Regions from separate parts of the Homo sapiens genome. Here regions 2, 3, 4 and 5 are each linked to region 1. The links are contacts of gene promoters, found by promoter capture Hi-C in human tissues and cell types (Jung and others, 2019). All regions are on one chromosome and are shown on one strand. Each heading gives the region's core, a stretch centred on a gene start or on the middle of the fragment in contact. The rest is flanking DNA. Distances are from core to core; before and after follow the strand shown. Region 1 holds the start of MRPS31 (mitochondrial ribosomal protein S31). Region 2 has its middle 50 kb from the start of LINC00548. Region 3 has its middle 75 kb from the start of LINC00548. Region 4 holds the start of LOC124903260 (small nucleolar RNA U13). Region 5 has its middle 9.3 kb from the start of ELF1.

Region 1 (3,339 bases), core at 328-2,827:
AGGACTCTCATTATAATATTCAATATATGGTACAATCTATTTAAGAAAATGGTCATTATTTTACATTTAAAGTTACTATTCAAGGTATTTTAATAGAAAAGTGGTAATCAGGGGAATGAATCTCACATGTAATCTTTACTACAATGTTTTCTTTCAAGACTGCTATCATACCACAGAAAACAATCTACATTATAGGAAAATCACGTCTAAGTAACTCCCTAGCACTAAAAATAATAAACCTCTCGACCTAACCTCCCACCTGAGTTTGTTTCCACTGACAGCAGCTCATCAGTACTTCAAATGCAACACCTTCAACACCACATTCAAGACTCCTCTTTCAGACTGACTTTCCATTTTTCACACTTTCTATATTAAAAGGCCCCCTAACATAAACAGGTATTTGTTGTTTTCTAAAAATTATAATATATGGAAAAATCTTTCTCAAGCCTGGCTCCGCATTCTTCTGTTAACATTAAGGATACCCTAATACTCCAACGCAGCCAGTTGAAATTTTTGCTATCTCTGACTACCCTACCATTATCCCATGACGTCACATCCCTTTAATTCTACCTGTGCAATTTTTCTCCTCCATTCAGCTGGTCCTTCCCATCTTCACTGCTACTAACCTGCTTCAGCACTGTACTTAACCAAACTGCCTTCTGAGTGTTACGCATGGAATTTATGCAGCGGAATTAGGTTTTCATAATAAAGTTCTCGGAGGATAAATACCAAAACCAAGTATGCCACAATTCCCTTTTTTCCTGGCTAACTTCAACCAGTGGTCCTCCTTCAGATTTCGTCAGACTTTTCCAGAAACGATATCCTGAGTCTCCCCTATAATGGTTAGGTGTCCCTATTTGCTATCCCAGCAAGTACTCATTCATGTTGGCTGAATAGTGTACTCTGTTTACCTACACTATCTCAGCTATTACTTCACTACATAGCACTTGAATTGTCTACTTTCTGGAACTACACGCTCCGTGATGGCAGGACTGTCTCACTTGGGGTTTACAACCAGTACTGGCACGCTGTTTTTCGAGTTTTTCAGTAATGAACTAAAGAATAAATGAAGGAAAACAAATGAGACTATCAAATAAATCTTGGGAGGCAAAAGATAAAAACCTGGGTAAACTGACAGGAGATGATGACAAGAGGAATGAGGCGCGGCGTGTAGTAGAGCACAGCGACCAGGTTTGTAATCGTAGCTCTGTTTTCACGCACACTATGACCTTGGGCAAGTCATCTTTTCTTTCTGGGATTTCTCTTTCCTCAGATTTAAAGCAATAGCTTCTAAGACCCAGCAGGTGGTAACATCGACCCCAGGAAGTCGGAGGATGTACAGGACGGGGCACGGGGTTGCCTGAGGACCTACCGGGCCAACAGCGCTGAACTGCGGTACCTGACTGTTCCGTGCCGAACAGTGAGTAGCATAATCGCAGCCGCTGATGTCTCCGGGCTTCCAGAGGACAAAGGGTGGCGGGAAAGGGGGCGAAGAGGTAGGAACGTCGAGACTCTAGGAAACATCGCCGAGACACGAAATGAACCAAGAACACAACTGAAATGGTGCGTCCCGCTGCCAAACACGTCCCCGCCCTCTCTTCCGCTTCCGGCCTGGCGCCTTCCTCCCCCTTTGCGCTCCGGTGGGCTACAGGGGCGGGTAACTGTGTTCCGGACTCGCCCGCGGCCGGGCGGAGCCAGTTGCCTCCAAGCGACCCGACCCACCCCGCGATTGTAGTCCTAGAGGCGGAGTCCTCGCCAGAGTTCAGCAAAGGTTCGCTGGCCGAGGCGGGTCCCAGACCGGCGAACCCGACAGTGGAGGGCGTGACCAGTTGTGCAAAAACTACAGATGGTGCCAGTGAGATCAGTCTCTTCTTTAACAGACAATATTTTGCGATGTTTGGAGGGGAAGGGTCTACAGCGTTCACCACGTTCTCAAAATGCGCCATGGCCACCAAAGAGGTTTAAAAAAAATTACTAAAAGACCTGCTGCCCTATGAATTAGCGTTTCCTTTCAGTCTTTATTTTTGATGTAGAGTCAAAATGAGACATAGGTTTCATTTTTCAAAAATAGCTTTATGGCCGGGCACGGTGGCTCACGCCTGTAATCCCAGCACTTTGGGAGGCCGAGGCGGGTGGGTCACTTGAGGTCACGGGTGCGAGACCAGCCTGGCCAACATGGTGAAACCCCATCTCTACTAAAAAAAAAAAAAAAAAAAAAAAATACAAACACACACACACACACACACACACAATTAGCCGGCCGTGGTGGCGGGCGCCTGTAATCCCAGCTACTGGGGAGGCTGAGGCAGGAGAAGCGCTTGAACTCGGGAGGTGGGGGCTGCAGTGAGCCGAGATCGCGCCATTGCACTCCAGCTTGGGCTACAGGGCGAGATTCTTTGTCTCAAAAAAACAAAAAAGAAAAGAAAAAAAGATTTACGCCGGGGGCACAGTGGCTCATACCTGTAATCCCAGTACTTACGGAAGCCGAGGCGGGCAGATCACTTGAGGCCAGGGGTGAAGACCAGCCTGGTCAACATAGTGAAACCCTGACTCTACTAAAAATGCAAAAATTAACCTGGCGTGGTGGCGAGTGCCTATAATCCCAGCTACTCGGGAGGCTGAGGCAGGAGAATAGCTTGAACCCGGGAGGCGGAAGCTGCAGTGAGCCAAGATTGTGCCACTGCACTCCAGCCTGGGCAACAGAGTGAGACCCCGTCTCAAAAAAAAAAAAGGATGAAAAGATGCAAGAGAGAGACTTGGCTTTTACCTGTCCCTCATGAAACAGGGAACTGTGACCCCAGAAGAGATGTGGGGTTCCCAAACTTGGAAGGGGATGAGAATAAATCTGGTGGGAAATGTTGGCTAATAGGACACATGGGAACCACTAGCCTAAAATTCCATAAAGGCATTCCAAAGTTTACATCAACATTTTCCCTGTCCTCTCAAAAAATAATCAAGGTGGGGAGGTGAGTTTTTGTGATACTAAAACACAGCTTACATTGAGCAGATCTTCCTGAGATCCACTAACACTAACAGAACCTTTGTGACTGAATGCTCTACACAGTACACTTGGGGATGCTTACTTTGTCTGATTTGTAAAAAAACAAACAAAAATTAAAGCATAACTTTGTCAAAAAACAAAATTATGGCAAATTTAGCATAATTGGTTTTTATTTGTGATTCTAGAATAGTGTTCCAGTGAGTTGAGCAGAGGGGTTTGGCTTTACAAGCACAAAAGAGTTGAAGAAAATAGAAACAGGGAACAAAAATCAGATTGGTCATTTCAAAGTTACCTTCCTTATAGGGTTAAAACAGAGGGATTCCTTGTCATGCTGGCTC
Region 2 (3,339 bases), core at 550-3,049, 500 kb before region 1:
CTCCCCGGCCAGGTGCTGACTCTTTCTGCAGCCCTAACACCAAGGAGGTTCAAGACTGATGGCAACACAAGGTCCAAATATCTATCACGTGCCAAAGTGAAGGAGTTTACATGTGATTAAAAACACTTTCACATTACCACAAGACAGCAATATGAACTGTGACCTAAAGCCTCAGCATACTCTGCCCCCATCATACCCCAGCCCACTCATGCCCTATGTTCTTAAAGAGCTCATGCAAAAATTCCCCACCTGGCTCCACTCATTCCAGGCTTAAACCATCCATAAGCTTCCTGGAAGCCTCAAGACTTGAAACACACCCTTGACCCTCAGCAGACTCATGACACTGGCCAGAGCTGCAGGGAGAAGCCCTCACTGAGAGCTCTGTGCTGACTCCCAGATGGCCAGTCCTTCCAGGACTGACCAGATGGTTCAGACAGCAAGGTCTCTCTGTCTGGACATACTAGTCATTTGATGAAAGTCAAAATATGTGATGGCTGCAGTCATTACCCAAGGCTTCTGTCATCATCGCATTCCCAGATTCTTTGGATTTGGCTGGGCAAACAGACTGGACAAGGCTCGGCTGCTGCTTTTGCTATTCACAGACACCACTTAAACTGAGTGATCCCCTTTCAAAACCTGCTCCCATGATCCAAATTCTTCTGGAAGATGAGATTTCTGGTTAAGCAAAAGTCAGCTGTGCACGGATGGTTTGAAAATTCTTCCCTCCCCTCATCTTCATGTACACCCATCATTGCCACGTCATTGCCCCTCCCAGACCCTTCCTTATAGCAGTCATTATCTATCCCACCAGGCCACCCTCCTGGGCTGGAAGATAGAAGCATGACCCATGACATGACTGAAGGTGCAGGGTCTTCAGTCTGGGCAGTTTAAACCATGATTTAACAGGATGTAGACAAAGAACCCTGCAGCTGGGGACTCAAGTTTCTTGCTCCAACTAAACCCAGAATCTGCCCTTTCCTAGTAAAGTAAACTGTAACCTGAATTTCTCAACTACAAAATTAGGACAATACTAGTCACTCTCTCTGTCCTGCTAACCTCTCATGCATAATGTGAGGATAAAATGAAAGTAGAGATGTGACTATGGTTTAACAAAGCGACTATGGTTTAACAAAGCCAAAAATATAATATACAGTATTATTACCAAGAGCAGATCACGTCCTCTGCACCATGTATCCCACCTAAGCAGGATTAATGTTTTTAACACTCAGTTTTTCCCACTCAAATATCAGATCCTTGGTTCTTATTTATTTATTTTTTTTAGAGATGGGGTCTTTCTCTGTCACCCAGGCTGGAGTGCAGTAACTCACTCATAGCTCACTGCAGTCTCAACTTCCTGGGCTCAAGTGACCCTCCTACCTTAGCCTCTAGAGTAGCTGGAACTACAGGCACGAGGCACCACACCAGGCTAGAACCTTGATTCTAACAGTCAGTAGTATCTGGAGGAAGTCTTTAACTGAACCCCATATGAAATTGACAATAAGACTTTTTGAGAAGACTGGACTGGTATTCTGTAATGAGAATTGTCTATTATTTCACTAGATATTCTAGACAATTGAACCTGGTCCTAAATTTTCTCCCCCTAAGAAACTAGTGATAACCTTCAACCAGTGTAGCTAAGATACAGCTGTTTCTTGGATCAGTTTCTTATTTCTTTACATCCTGAGCAGTCTATGTGCCAGGACATTTTCTTCTATTAATAAAGCCATCTTAGTTTGTGTCTCTGCAATTGCCCAAAGCAAGTCCCCAAGAACCAAATTAATATCCTGTGATAGCAAGCTCCATTTCCCTTGACTGTGCTCGGCACAACATGAGTTGCAGCTTGACGCAGGAATCGACATGGGGCCCTCAGCTCTGTGCTCCTCCATCATCACTTTCTTCACCTCAAAATGAGTCCCCATGATATGCCATACTCTGCATAGGACAAAGTAGTGCACAAAAGCAAATGAGGTTTTTCCCTTAGAGGAGCTTATACTCCACAGCTGAGTTTGCTAAGGAGGCTGGGTTCTCTTTTTGAGAGCTGGTCCATGGGGTTTGTTATAAACACCATCAGCAGAAAGAGCCACTTCCTGTTGGTATCTGGGTCTAACACAGATCCCTAATTGCCCAGAAATTTGGGTGCCATAACAATGGTGACATCTCCCCAGAAGTGGGCACAGGGGAGCAACTTAGGGTATTCCCATTTCATCACTTCCCAGGATTCCACTTCCAGAGATTTCTTAAACCTGACTCCATGGTAAGTCTCTTAATTACATCAATACTCCCTTTGAGCACCTCCTATGTGCCAGGCCATGTGCTAAGAACTTTGCAATTAATCCTCTTAACAACTGTTATATTTTTTTTCAACAAATGAGGGAAAAATGGCTCAGGAATATTAAGTAACAAATCCAAGCTCACTAGAGGCAAGTGCTAGTAGAGTCAAGACTCTAACCTAACCTGACTCCAGAGACTCCCCCCAGATTGAAGAAGGTGAATACAACACAGCCAGGAGGCTCCAACATGTTTACAGCAATGAGATTTTTCCTTTTTGATCCATCTGTGGCTGAGAACAGAATTGACTCCCTTCCAGAAAAATCTAGTCTGGTCTCTGTGACTTGGAAAAATAGTCAAGTGCTAAGTGAGCCATTCAGGACCCAAGAGGGTAAAATTAACAAGCATGACAGCAGCATTCATTTTTCAGTGTCAGCAATGTTCCAGGTGTAAGGAAGGACCCTAATTATTATCAGGCCACACACACGGTTTTCCTTCCTGCCTTGTGGCTCAGAGTGGTCGGCAAGAGCTACAGGCATCTTCCTGCCACATGAGTGGAGCTAGCGGAGGCCAAACGTCACTCAGAGACACCCAGGCCCCACCCCAGAGACTGACAGGAGCAACTACCACACTCAGTCCTCTCTCGGTTCCAGGAGCCACCATGTCCAAGCCAGTCCAAGCCAGAGAAAGGGGCCAGGCATGCCTCACGCCACCTCCCGAGATAGGCTTTGTTATTTGAATTTAAGGCCACCCCGAACTGCATGGCAGTTTTCTTAGTGGCCTTCCACAGAGCCACCTGTCTCAAGGCAGCACTCTCAGGGTTCTTGCTTCCTACAACCGAAGCTGGAAGGAGGAACCTCAGATTCCTTTATGGGTAGGAAAGAGATTGCAGAGAAAAACAGCCTCTTTGTGAAAGGCTGATTTGAAAAGGCATGCACAGATGAGTTAGAATCTGGGACTGTGTCCAGGTGGAAGTCTTGCCTGGAATTCCTAATGCATTCTTTCTGTTATTAAAATAATATAAGCAACCGGGGTGGCTTGTTGCTTCTCTGCATGTAGTCAATTTGGCTC
Region 3 (3,339 bases), core at 568-3,067, 480 kb before region 1:
GCATTGTCTGGGTACCCAGCTTTGACTTGTCCTTGACACAGTTAACTGCATGTGTCTCTACTCTGCTTGTAAAATAAAAAGTGACCACTGTATTCTGTAAAGGCAAGGACACAAGTCTTTCTACCTGATGCCATGAATATGCCTGGATATATTGACATATGACATGGATATATGTCCACAAAGATGGATACATGTGATATATACATGATCATTTAAAAAGTCGTAAAGAAAAATACACGCGACCAACAAGTTTGTCGTCATGGGTATGTTGGGATGAGGTGGAAGGATGGAACATTCAATAGGACAGGAAGGTGAGGAGGAAGGGAGCCAAAAGACAAAGGGAAAAATAATGATAGAGACAGCACTAAAAAGAGAGAAGCAAATTGATTATAAGATGGCTTTACACATATAGGTAAAACTAGGTATGTGTGCATGCATGAAGTAGAGACACATGCAGAATGGATCAAGTGTTAGTCTGGGAGTTGATCTCCCAATGCTCTGTGAGAATATCTTGTTCACTCCAGCCTCACCGAGTACTTAGGATAGTGCCCACGCACAGATATTTCTGGAAGGAAATAAGAATGCAAGCTAGCAAATCAACTTGATTTCTATCCCTAAAGACACTACTCCTTAGGTGTGCAGCTCTGGGCAATACTTCCTTGGCCCAGAGGTAGCTGAGAGAATGAAAGACTGTTTTCAACAAGGGCAGGGCTGAGCAAAAAATTCAGGCAGACAAATTCTCCTAGACACCCCCAGACATTGCGGCCACTAGTTTTGCTGCAGTGGCAGCCTGCTTTGAAGCTGCGTGTTTGGTCTGTTAAGCTTTCTTAATTCATGTGCACATACTCACGTGCACGCACACACACAGAAAGGCAATAAAGAAAAATTACCTACAGTTTTCTTTTCAATGTGTATAAATGTGTGTTTTCAAATTTATACTTTTAAATATGTAAATGCCATCCCTCACACTTTTTAATTGTACGTATAAACAAACTCTTTTTTAACAAAATGAGGTCATTTATATTTTCCTACTAAAGGAGAATTTTATATTATTCTGCTTTATAAACTTTTATTCTCACTTAATATATTACAGATGTCTTCCAGGATTGTTCATAGAAGACCACTGTAGTCAGCTAATTGTCACAGTAATGATGCATAACAAATCACCAATGACTCCCAACAACTATCTTTTTCTTCACTCACACTGAGGGTCTCGTCTTGACTCTGAGCTTCAGGTTGGGTCCAGTCTGCTTCCCATGTCTGTTCTAGAGAGTGTCATTCTTCTTATGGTGATGGCAGAAGCTCAAGAGGAGTGAATGGAAACACATAGTGCCCCTCAAGTTGCCTCTGTCTACTTCTCATGGCCCAAAGCAAGTCATATGGTCAAGTCCAATATTTGTGGGATGGGGAAATACACTCCTGGGATCAACAGCAGAGTCATTGACACAGGGTGTGGTTGGGGAGAGGAGGGTGAGGCAAGAAGGAAGATGTAATATGCCATGGTAGAAATGTATCAGACTTTATTTATCCAGGCCCCTACAGATTAAAAATTAGATTGATTCCAATAAACAGTCATGCAAAATGCACTCTACCAAGCCCCTCATTTAATTCTCACAGCAACCCTGAAGAGCAGTTACTATTAACCGCACTGAAGAATGGGGAGGAAACTGGATCATGCTATAGATGATTAATAATTTGCTCTCAGTCATTGTTTTAGTGGGAAATGCAGGTGTCCCTCAAACCCAGATTTTCCCAGTGCAGCCCCATAAAAATCCTTCTGAGATTTGGTGCATGGTCAGATTTGTCTTTTCCAGGGAGCTGTGAATAAAGATACAGTTCATCCTATTTCTCTTTTGTCTAGGCTTCCATGAAGCTCAAAGCCAAGTTCAAGTCTCAAACAAGGCAAATTACTTACAATTAGTATATTCATAGACTCATTTCTTTGGTTCTAATGTTCCATTTCTATTTCACTCAACTTATTTATAGAGTACTCTTTTGCAAGTTTCCTTCATTTTAAAAATAAAGAATCAAGATGTAATTAATTTGAATTTGAAGGATGTCAGAATTTCTTGACTGAGCATTCAAGGAGCTCAAGAGTGCTGGGTTCTGATTGTGGATGGTCAGTGCCCCAGACTCTGCCTCCTACACAGTGCAACTTTCTGAAGCCTGGGCTGTAGGTGGTCACCAGTCACACTCACTGCAGCCAGAAGACAAAGAAGGGAAAAAGAATGACACTCAAATGAATCGATTGTATTGATTAGCAGGAACTCCAGTAGCAATTCAAGAGCATTGGAAAATTAATAAATTATGGTGTTCCTCCCTGCTTACCAATACCAGAGATAATCTAGGGTTAATTTTAGTGCCCTACACTGCATCTGGCCCCTGTCAGGTACTTGATAAATGCATAATGATGCACAGCTATACATTTATCAAAAAGAAATAAATATAATCAACACCCAAAAGGCAAATGTCTTTTAAAATTTTCATTCTTACGTTTTAGACTATTAATGTATCAATTTAAAGACAAACTCCTGTAATCACCCAGTGGAGTCTTCTTGCCCACTGCACTAACAAAACCAATTCACTGAAACAATGGCATTGCAGTAAAGAAAGAGTTTAATTGACATGAGGCCAGCCACACCATGCAGAAGATGAAGTTATTACTCAAATTGGTCTCCCTGAACCCTTGGAGGTTAGGGTTTTTCAAGGATAGTTTGGTGGGCAGGGGACTAGGGAATGGGTGCTGCTGATTGGTTGGGGATGCCATCATGGGGGAAATGTGGAAGATGTGGAAAATGGTTATTGCGTGCTTAGTCCACCTCTGGGTGGGGGCCGCAGGACCAGCTGAGTCATGAGTCACAGGTCTGGGTGGAGTCAGCCAAGTAATCAGAAATGCAAAGTCTGAAAAGACATTGCAAAAGTCCAATCTTAGTTTCTACAATAGTAATGTTACTTACAAGAATAACTGGGGAAGTTACAAATCCTGTGATCTCCGGAACTATGGCTGATTATCATTTAACTATGCCTACATCTTAGCAGAATTCAGACCCTTATAATCCTAACCTTGTGGGCTTTCATTAATTAGTTTTACAAAGGTGATTTAGTTTAGAGAAGGACTATTATCATCCTTGCTCTACAGTTAAATTATTAACTAAAATTTCCCTAAAGTCAGTTTGCCCTACACCTAGGAATGACCAAGGGCAGCTTGGAGATTAGAACCAAGATGGCATCAACTATATAAGATTTATCTTACTGTTGTAATTTTGCAAAGGCAATTTCAATCCCTTCCTTGGGTTTCAGCACATCTCAATCCTGAGGTATGAGCTATGGAGATGAAAA
Region 4 (3,339 bases), core at 571-3,070, 410 kb after region 1:
ATTAGTAAAAATAATTTAAGGGAAGAAACTGCTAACTGAAGCATGATCATTTTTTACTAGAAGGGTTTAACACGTAAATTCCCAGAATTCTTGAATTAGGAGGATTCAACATTAAAATAAGAGTTATTTGTGTGTTTTAAAACAGTATTGTTTTGGGCCAGGCGCGGTGGCTCACACCTATAATCCCAACACTTTGGGAGGCCGGGAGGCCAAGGCAAGTGGATCACCTGAGGTCAAGAGTCCGAGACCAGCCTGGCCAACATGGTGAAACCCCATCTCTACTAAAAATACAAAAATTAGTCGAGCGTGGTGGCACATGACTGTAGTCCCAGCTACTCGGGGGGCTGAGGCGGGGCAATCGCTTTAACCCAGGAGGCAGAGGTTGCAGTGAGCCGAGATTGCGTCACTGCACTCCAGCCTGGGTGACAGAAAAAAAAAAAAGTATTGTTTTATTTCAGCTTTACTCATAATAGCCAAAAACTGGAAACAAGCAAATAAAACCAAATGTCCTTCAGTGGATGAATGATTAAACAAACTGTGTTATATACATACCATGGAATACTCTGGCAATAAAAAGGAAATGAACTTTTTTTTAAGAATAAAAGCTTTATTGAGATATAATTCACATACCATAAAGTTCATCTTTTTAAAGTTTAAAGTTCAGTTGTTTTTAGAACACTGACAATACAAACACTACTTAGATAATTGTGCAAAAATCACCAGTAATTCCAAAACACTGTCATTACTCCCAAAAGAATCTCCATATCTATTAGCATTACCATATCTATTAGCATTACTCCCCATTTCCACCTTATTGTCCATATGTTCACGCCCCAGACCTAAGCAATCCTTAATCTATTCTCTGTCTCTATGGATTTGCTGATTCTGAATCTCTCATATAAATGGAATCACACAATATGTTTCCTTCTGTTTCTGGCTTCTTTAGCTTAATATGCTCAAGAGTCATCTCTGTTATAGCATGCATCAGAACTCTATTTTTTTATGGATAAATAAGATTCCATTGCACTGATATTGACCTTTTGCTCATCTATTTGTCAGTTGATGAGCATTCGGGTTTTTCCTCCTTTTTGTCGGTTATGAATAATGCTGCTATGAACATTAGTGTACCAGTTTTTTCTGTACATATGTTTCCAGTTCTCTTGGTTATGTACCTAGGAGTGGAATTGCTGAGTCATATGGTATCTCTGTTAACTTTCTGAGGAACAGAAAACTGTTTTCCAAAGCCATTGTACCATTTTACACTCCTACCAGCAGGTATGAGGATTTCAGTTTTTCCACATCCTTGCCATCCTTGCTTTTGTCTTTTTTTGAATTTTCATGTCAAAGGGGTAATGTTCCAATGAGGTCATAACAAGGCTTGGGGAAGGCACATTTCACACATGCACGTGAAACCCCAGTCATCACGCTTATAAACTACAAAAGGATCTGCTTTTGCTTTTTATTATAGCCATCCAAGTAGGTGTAAAGTGGTATTTCCTTGTGGTTTCATTTGTATTTCCCTAATGTGTTGAGTATCTTTTCATGTGCTTGTTGGTCATTTGTCTATCTTGTTTGAAGCAATGTCTGTTCAAATCTTTTCTCAATTTTTCAGTTGGGTTATTTGTCTTTTTATTGTTGAATTGTATCAGTTCTTTACATATTCTAGACACATGTCCCTTATCAGATATATGATTTGCAAATATTTTCTCCCGGTGTGTGAGTTGTTTTTTTACTTTTTTTTCACTCACATTATGTATGTTGATGTTATGATTTGAAGCACAAAAGTTTCATTTTGGTTAAGTCTAATTTCTTTTGTTGAACTACTGATTGTTTTTTAAGAAATAAATGCCCTGTACATCAAGCTGTATACAGAGTGTACTCTGAAATAGGTCGAATTAAAAGAAGTCCTGATTATGGAGATTTTCAGTGAGCTGTTAGGTCAACTCGTGGTTAATTCTCTGGGAATGAGCCTTTTTGGGCTTCAAATCTGTTCTTTTCTCTCCAGTGGCTGCTAAGCTCTACTTTCCACAACTACTATAAATGTGAAGCTATTGAGTTTCAAGGCTTCCATGGAACTGGGGAGAGGTGTATAGGATTAGAGCAAGTTAAAACACTATAGGCTTTCCGTTCTTACTGAGATTCAGCTGTTTTTCTTAGGTAAACATTCCTTGGAATGTGGCAAGCTTTTGTTAATTTCCACAATTCTAATAAGTTTATGTCAACAGCTTTTGCTAATGTCCTCATTGCTTTTATGGAGGAGCAGATTCTCGGTGTGACATTACTGTACCATTTGGAATGTCTACTGATATACACGATAACTTGGATAAATCTCAAGAGAATTATGCTGAGTGAAAACATGATCTCAAAAGATTAAATACAGTATGATTCCATTTATATAACTTTTTTTTCTTTGAGATAGGGTCTTGCTCTGTCGCCCAGGCTGCAGTGCAGCAGCACAGTCATAGCTCACTGTAACCTCAAACTCCTGGGCTCAAGTGATCCTTCTGTCTCGACCTCCCGAGTAGCTAGAATTACAGCCACCACACCTGGCTAATTAAAAAATTTTTTTGTAGAGATGTGGTCTTGCTATGTTGCCCAGGCTGGTTTGAAACTCCTGACCACACATGATCCTGCTGCCTCAACCTTCCAAAGCACTGGGATTACAGGCATAAGTCACCATGCCCACCCTATATAACAAATTTAAAATGACAAAATTACAGAGATGAATTACAGATTAGGGGTTGACTAGGGAGATGAGGAGGGAAAAGCCTGTGGCTATAAAAGCAAGGCACTGGCTGGGCACAGTGGCTCACGCCTATAATCCCAGCACTTTGGGAGGCCAAGGTGGGCGGATCACCTGAGGTCGGAAGTTCGAGACCAGCCTGACCAACACGGAGAAACTCTGTCTCTACTGAAAATACAAAATTAGCTGGGCGTGGTGGAGCATGCCTGTGATCCCAGCTACTTGGGAGGCTGAGGCAAGGAGAATCACTTGAACCTGGGAGGTGGAGGTTGTGGTGAGCCGAGATCGCCCCATTGCACTCCAGCCTGGGCAACAAGAGCAAAACTCTGTCTTAAAAAAAAAAAAAAAAAAAAAAAAAAAAGCATGGCACAAAGGATATTTGTAATAGAACTATTTTATATCTTGACTGTGTTGATGTTCTCATGAATCTACATGTTAATAAACTTCATAGATTTAAATATACACACACCAAACGCATGCATGTAAAAGTGGTAAAATGTGAATTTTAATGATTTGTATCAATGTCATTTTCTTGGTTGTGATATTTTACTATAGTTGTGCAAAGTGTTACCATTGGGAAAAACAAGTGAAGGATA
Region 5 (3,339 bases), core at 571-3,070, 260 kb after region 1:
TCTACAATCAGCTGACAGAGCCTTGTTTACAGATGGTTCTGCACGACATGCGAGCACCACCCAAAAGCGGACAGCTGCAGTGCTACAGCCCTTTTTCTGGAACATCCAGTCATGAAATCTTCCCAGTCACGAAATCTTCCCAGTAGGCAGAACTTAGGGCAGCACACCCAGTTACGCACTTTGCTGTGAAGGAGAAATGGCCAGATGTGTGATTATACGTCAATGCATAGGCAATAGATAATGGTTTCACAGGATGCTCAGGGACTTCGAAGGAACATAACCAGAAAATTGGTGACAAAGAAATTTGGGGCAGAACAGATCTCTCCTAACTGGGCAAAGGATGTGAAGATATTTGTCTTATGTGAATGCTCACCAAAGGGTGACCTCAGCAGAGGAGGGCTTTAATAATCAAGTGGATAGCATGACCTGTTTTATGGATACCAGTCAGCCATTTTCCCCAGCCACCTGTCATTGCCCAGGGGGCTCATCCTGGACATGGTGGCAGGGATGGAGGTTATTCACGGGCTTAGCAACATGGATTTCCACTCACTACAGCTCACCTGGGTATGGCCACTGCTGAGTGCCCAATCTGCTAGCAGCAGAGACCAGCAATGAGCCCCCAGTATGGCACCATTCCCTGGGGTGATCCGCCAGCTACCTGGTGGCTGCTTCCATCACAGAAGGGGCAGCAGTTTGTTCTTACTGCAATAGACACTCTAGATACAAATTTGCCTTTCCTGCACACAATGCTTCTCCCAAAACTACCATCCATGAACTCACAGAATGCCTTATCTACCATCATGGCATTCTACACAGCATTGCTTCTGACCATGGAACTTATCTCAGTCACAAAAGTGGGGTAATGGGCTCAAGCTCATGGAATTCATTGGTCTTACCATGTTCCCTGCCATCCTGAAGCAGCTAGCTTGACAGGATGGTGAAATGGCCCTTAGAAGATTCAGTTACAGTGCCAGCTAGGTGATAATACCTTGCAGGTCTAGCACTAGGTTCTCCAGAAGGCTGTACACATTCTGAGTTAGCATCCACTACATGGTACTGTTTTTCCCACAGCCAGGAGTCAATATTCCTTGTTTCCTGAACTAAGGAATACAAATAGGAATGGCACTACTCACCATTACCCACAAGCAAAATTTTTACTTCCTGTTCCCGTAACTTTATGCTCTTTTGGCCTAGAAGTCTTAGTTCCAGAGAGAGAGGAATACTTCCACCAGGAAACACAATAATGATTCCATGGAACTGGAGTCAAAACTACCATCCAGCCACTTTGGGCTCCTCATGCCTCTGAGTCAACATAGCTGGGGGTGATTAATCTAAACTAGGAATGGGAAGCTGGACTACTAACTCACAGTGCAGATAAAGAAGAGTATGTCTGGAATACAGGAGATCCCTTGGGGCATCTCTTTGTATTATCATGCCCTTTAAATAAGTCAACGGGAAACTACAACAACCCAATCCAGGAAGGTCTACTAATAGCCCAGACCCTTTAAGAATGAAGCTTTGGGTCACCCCACCAAATAAAGAACCACGACCAGCTAAGGCGTTTGCTGAAGGCAAACAGAATACAGAATATGTAGTACAAGAAGGCAGTAATCAATGCCAGCTATAACCACCTGACCAGTTAGGGAAATGAGGATTTTAACTGTCATGACTATATTCTCCCTATTTTGTTCAGAATACATTTGTGTGTATATATACATAGATATAACAAAGCAAATATCTTTGTGTTCTTTCCTCTTATTCCTTTACTATGTAATATAAGATGTATTTACTTTATATCAGTATTTAAGTATTGCTAATTTATTTTTTATCTTTTTGAGACAGAGTCTCACTCTGTTGCCCAGGCTGGAGTGAAGTGGCGCAATCTTGGTTCACTGCAACCTCTGCCTCCCAGGTTCAAGCGATTCTTAAGCCTCAGCCTCCCGAGTAGCTGGGACTACAAGTGCACACCACCATGCCCGGCTAATTTTTCCATTTTTATTATTGTATTTTTAGAGACGGGGTTTCACCATATTGGCCAGGCTGGTCTCAAACTCCTGACCTCGTAATCTGCCTGCCTCGGCCTCCCAAAGTGCTGGGATTACAGGTGTGAGCCACCATGCCCGGCCAAGTATTGTTAATTTTACATCATATAATTAAATTGTGGGACATAAGAGAACAACATTCAAGAGCTTTACCTCCTCTTCTGAGGATAAATCAGTGCATTTTCAATTGTATGCAGGGTAGTTGTATCATTTTAGGCAGAGCTACAATTTCGTAATTGTCTCTATTCGGAGATTAAATATGGTTTAAGTAGGTGCACATGGGTGCCACATGGGTGCCAAGTTGACAAGGGGTGGAACTGTGATGGTTAATTTCAGGTGTCAACTTAACTGAATTAAGAGGTACCCAGATAACTGGTATAGTATTATTTTTGGGTATGTCTGTGAGGATGAGGGTGTTTCCAGAGAGACTGGCATTTCTTTTTTATTTTTTTTGAAACAGTCCTGATCTCTTGCCCAGGCCTGACTGCAGTGGCCTGATCACAGCCTCAACCTCCCAGGCTCAGGTGATCCTCTCACCTCAGCCTCCCGAGTAGCTGGGACTACAGGCATGCACCACCATGCCTGGCTAATTTTTATGTTTTCTGGAGAGACGAGGTTTTGCCATGTTGCCCAGGCTGGTCCTGAACTCCTGGGCTCAAGTGATCCACCCGCCTCAGCCTCCCAAAGTGCAAGGATTACAGGCGTGAGCCAAAGTGCCCAGGGAGATAAGCATTTCAATCAGTGGACTCCATAAGGAAGATCTGCCCTCATCCAATGTGGGTGGGCACCATCAATTGGCTAAGGACCTGGATAGAAAGGTGAATTCTCTCTTTCTTGGAGCTGGGGCGCCCTCCTTCTCCAGCAACTGGAAAGACTGCAGTTACCAAAACTGAGACAGGAAAGATGACAAATGGCAATGGTTTGAGGTAGAGGAATATCAGAGTTCAGTTCTGAACACATTAAGCTTCAGATGCTCATTAGTTATCAGACTAGAGACACCAAATTAGATATGCAGTCCTGGAGTTGAATATACAGTCCTAAAGCCCAGGTTAAAGGTATGGGCTAGAGATCATAAACTTGGGAATAATTACCATATATATATATTTATATTTATATTACATTAACATGTATATAATATTAAAGCTATAGGTTAGAAAAGCAACAATGACAGACTCTTGGGACACTCCATCATTTAGAAGTAGAAAAGATGAGGCATAACAACAAAGAAGGCTAAAAGGAATACTCAGAAATGTAGGAAGAAAAAAAGGCATGTGTGTTTCCAAGAATAAGGAATGAG

What was found. The method cuts DNA at HindIII sites, captures the fragments that hold promoters and counts their contacts. A contact is called where the count stands out against the background at its distance.
Region 2: a fragment that was not itself captured here is called in contact with the fragment with the promoter of MRPS31 in region 1 in 1 of the 25 tissues and cell types used here (hippocampus).
Region 3: a fragment that was not itself captured here is called in contact with the fragment with the promoter of MRPS31 in region 1 in 1 of the 25 tissues and cell types used here (H1 embryonic stem cells).
Region 4: a fragment that was not itself captured here is called in contact with the fragment with the promoter of MRPS31 in region 1 in 1 of the 25 tissues and cell types used here (H1 embryonic stem cells).
Region 5: a contact is called between a fragment that was not itself captured here and the fragment with the promoter of MRPS31 in region 1, in 1 of the 25 tissues and cell types used here (spleen).

The regions. Positions count from the first base shown.
Region 1 is chr13:40,769,613-40,772,951 of GRCh38, forward strand. MRPS31 (mitochondrial ribosomal protein S31) reads right to left here and starts at 1,578. Exons shown (of 7, transcript NM_005830.4): 1 at 1,373-1,578. The coding sequence starts at 1,524. RefSeq lists an enhancer at 1,467-1,636. The HindIII fragment of the contact is 6,562 bases long and covers 1-3,339 here.
Region 2 is chr13:40,268,875-40,272,213 of GRCh38, forward strand. No RefSeq gene overlaps it. Among named protein-coding and RNA genes, the nearest start is that of LINC00548, 50 kb to the left of the region's middle. The HindIII fragment of the contact is 5,758 bases long and covers 1-3,339 here.
Region 3 is chr13:40,293,514-40,296,852 of GRCh38, forward strand. No RefSeq gene overlaps it. Among named protein-coding and RNA genes, the nearest start is that of LINC00548, 75 kb to the left of the region's middle. The HindIII fragment of the contact is 7,754 bases long and covers 1-3,339 here.
Region 4 is chr13:41,178,642-41,181,980 of GRCh38, forward strand. All of the region lies in intron 3 of KBTBD6-DT (KBTBD6 divergent transcript), which reads left to right. LOC124903260 (small nucleolar RNA U13) reads right to left here and starts at 1,446; the gene lies at 1,340-1,446. The HindIII fragment of the contact is 4,947 bases long and covers 1-3,339 here.
Region 5 is chr13:41,026,917-41,030,255 of GRCh38, forward strand. It overlaps a transcript of ELF1 not described here. Among named protein-coding and RNA genes, the nearest start is that of ELF1, 9.3 kb to the left of the region's middle. The HindIII fragment of the contact is 3,245 bases long and covers 199-3,339 here.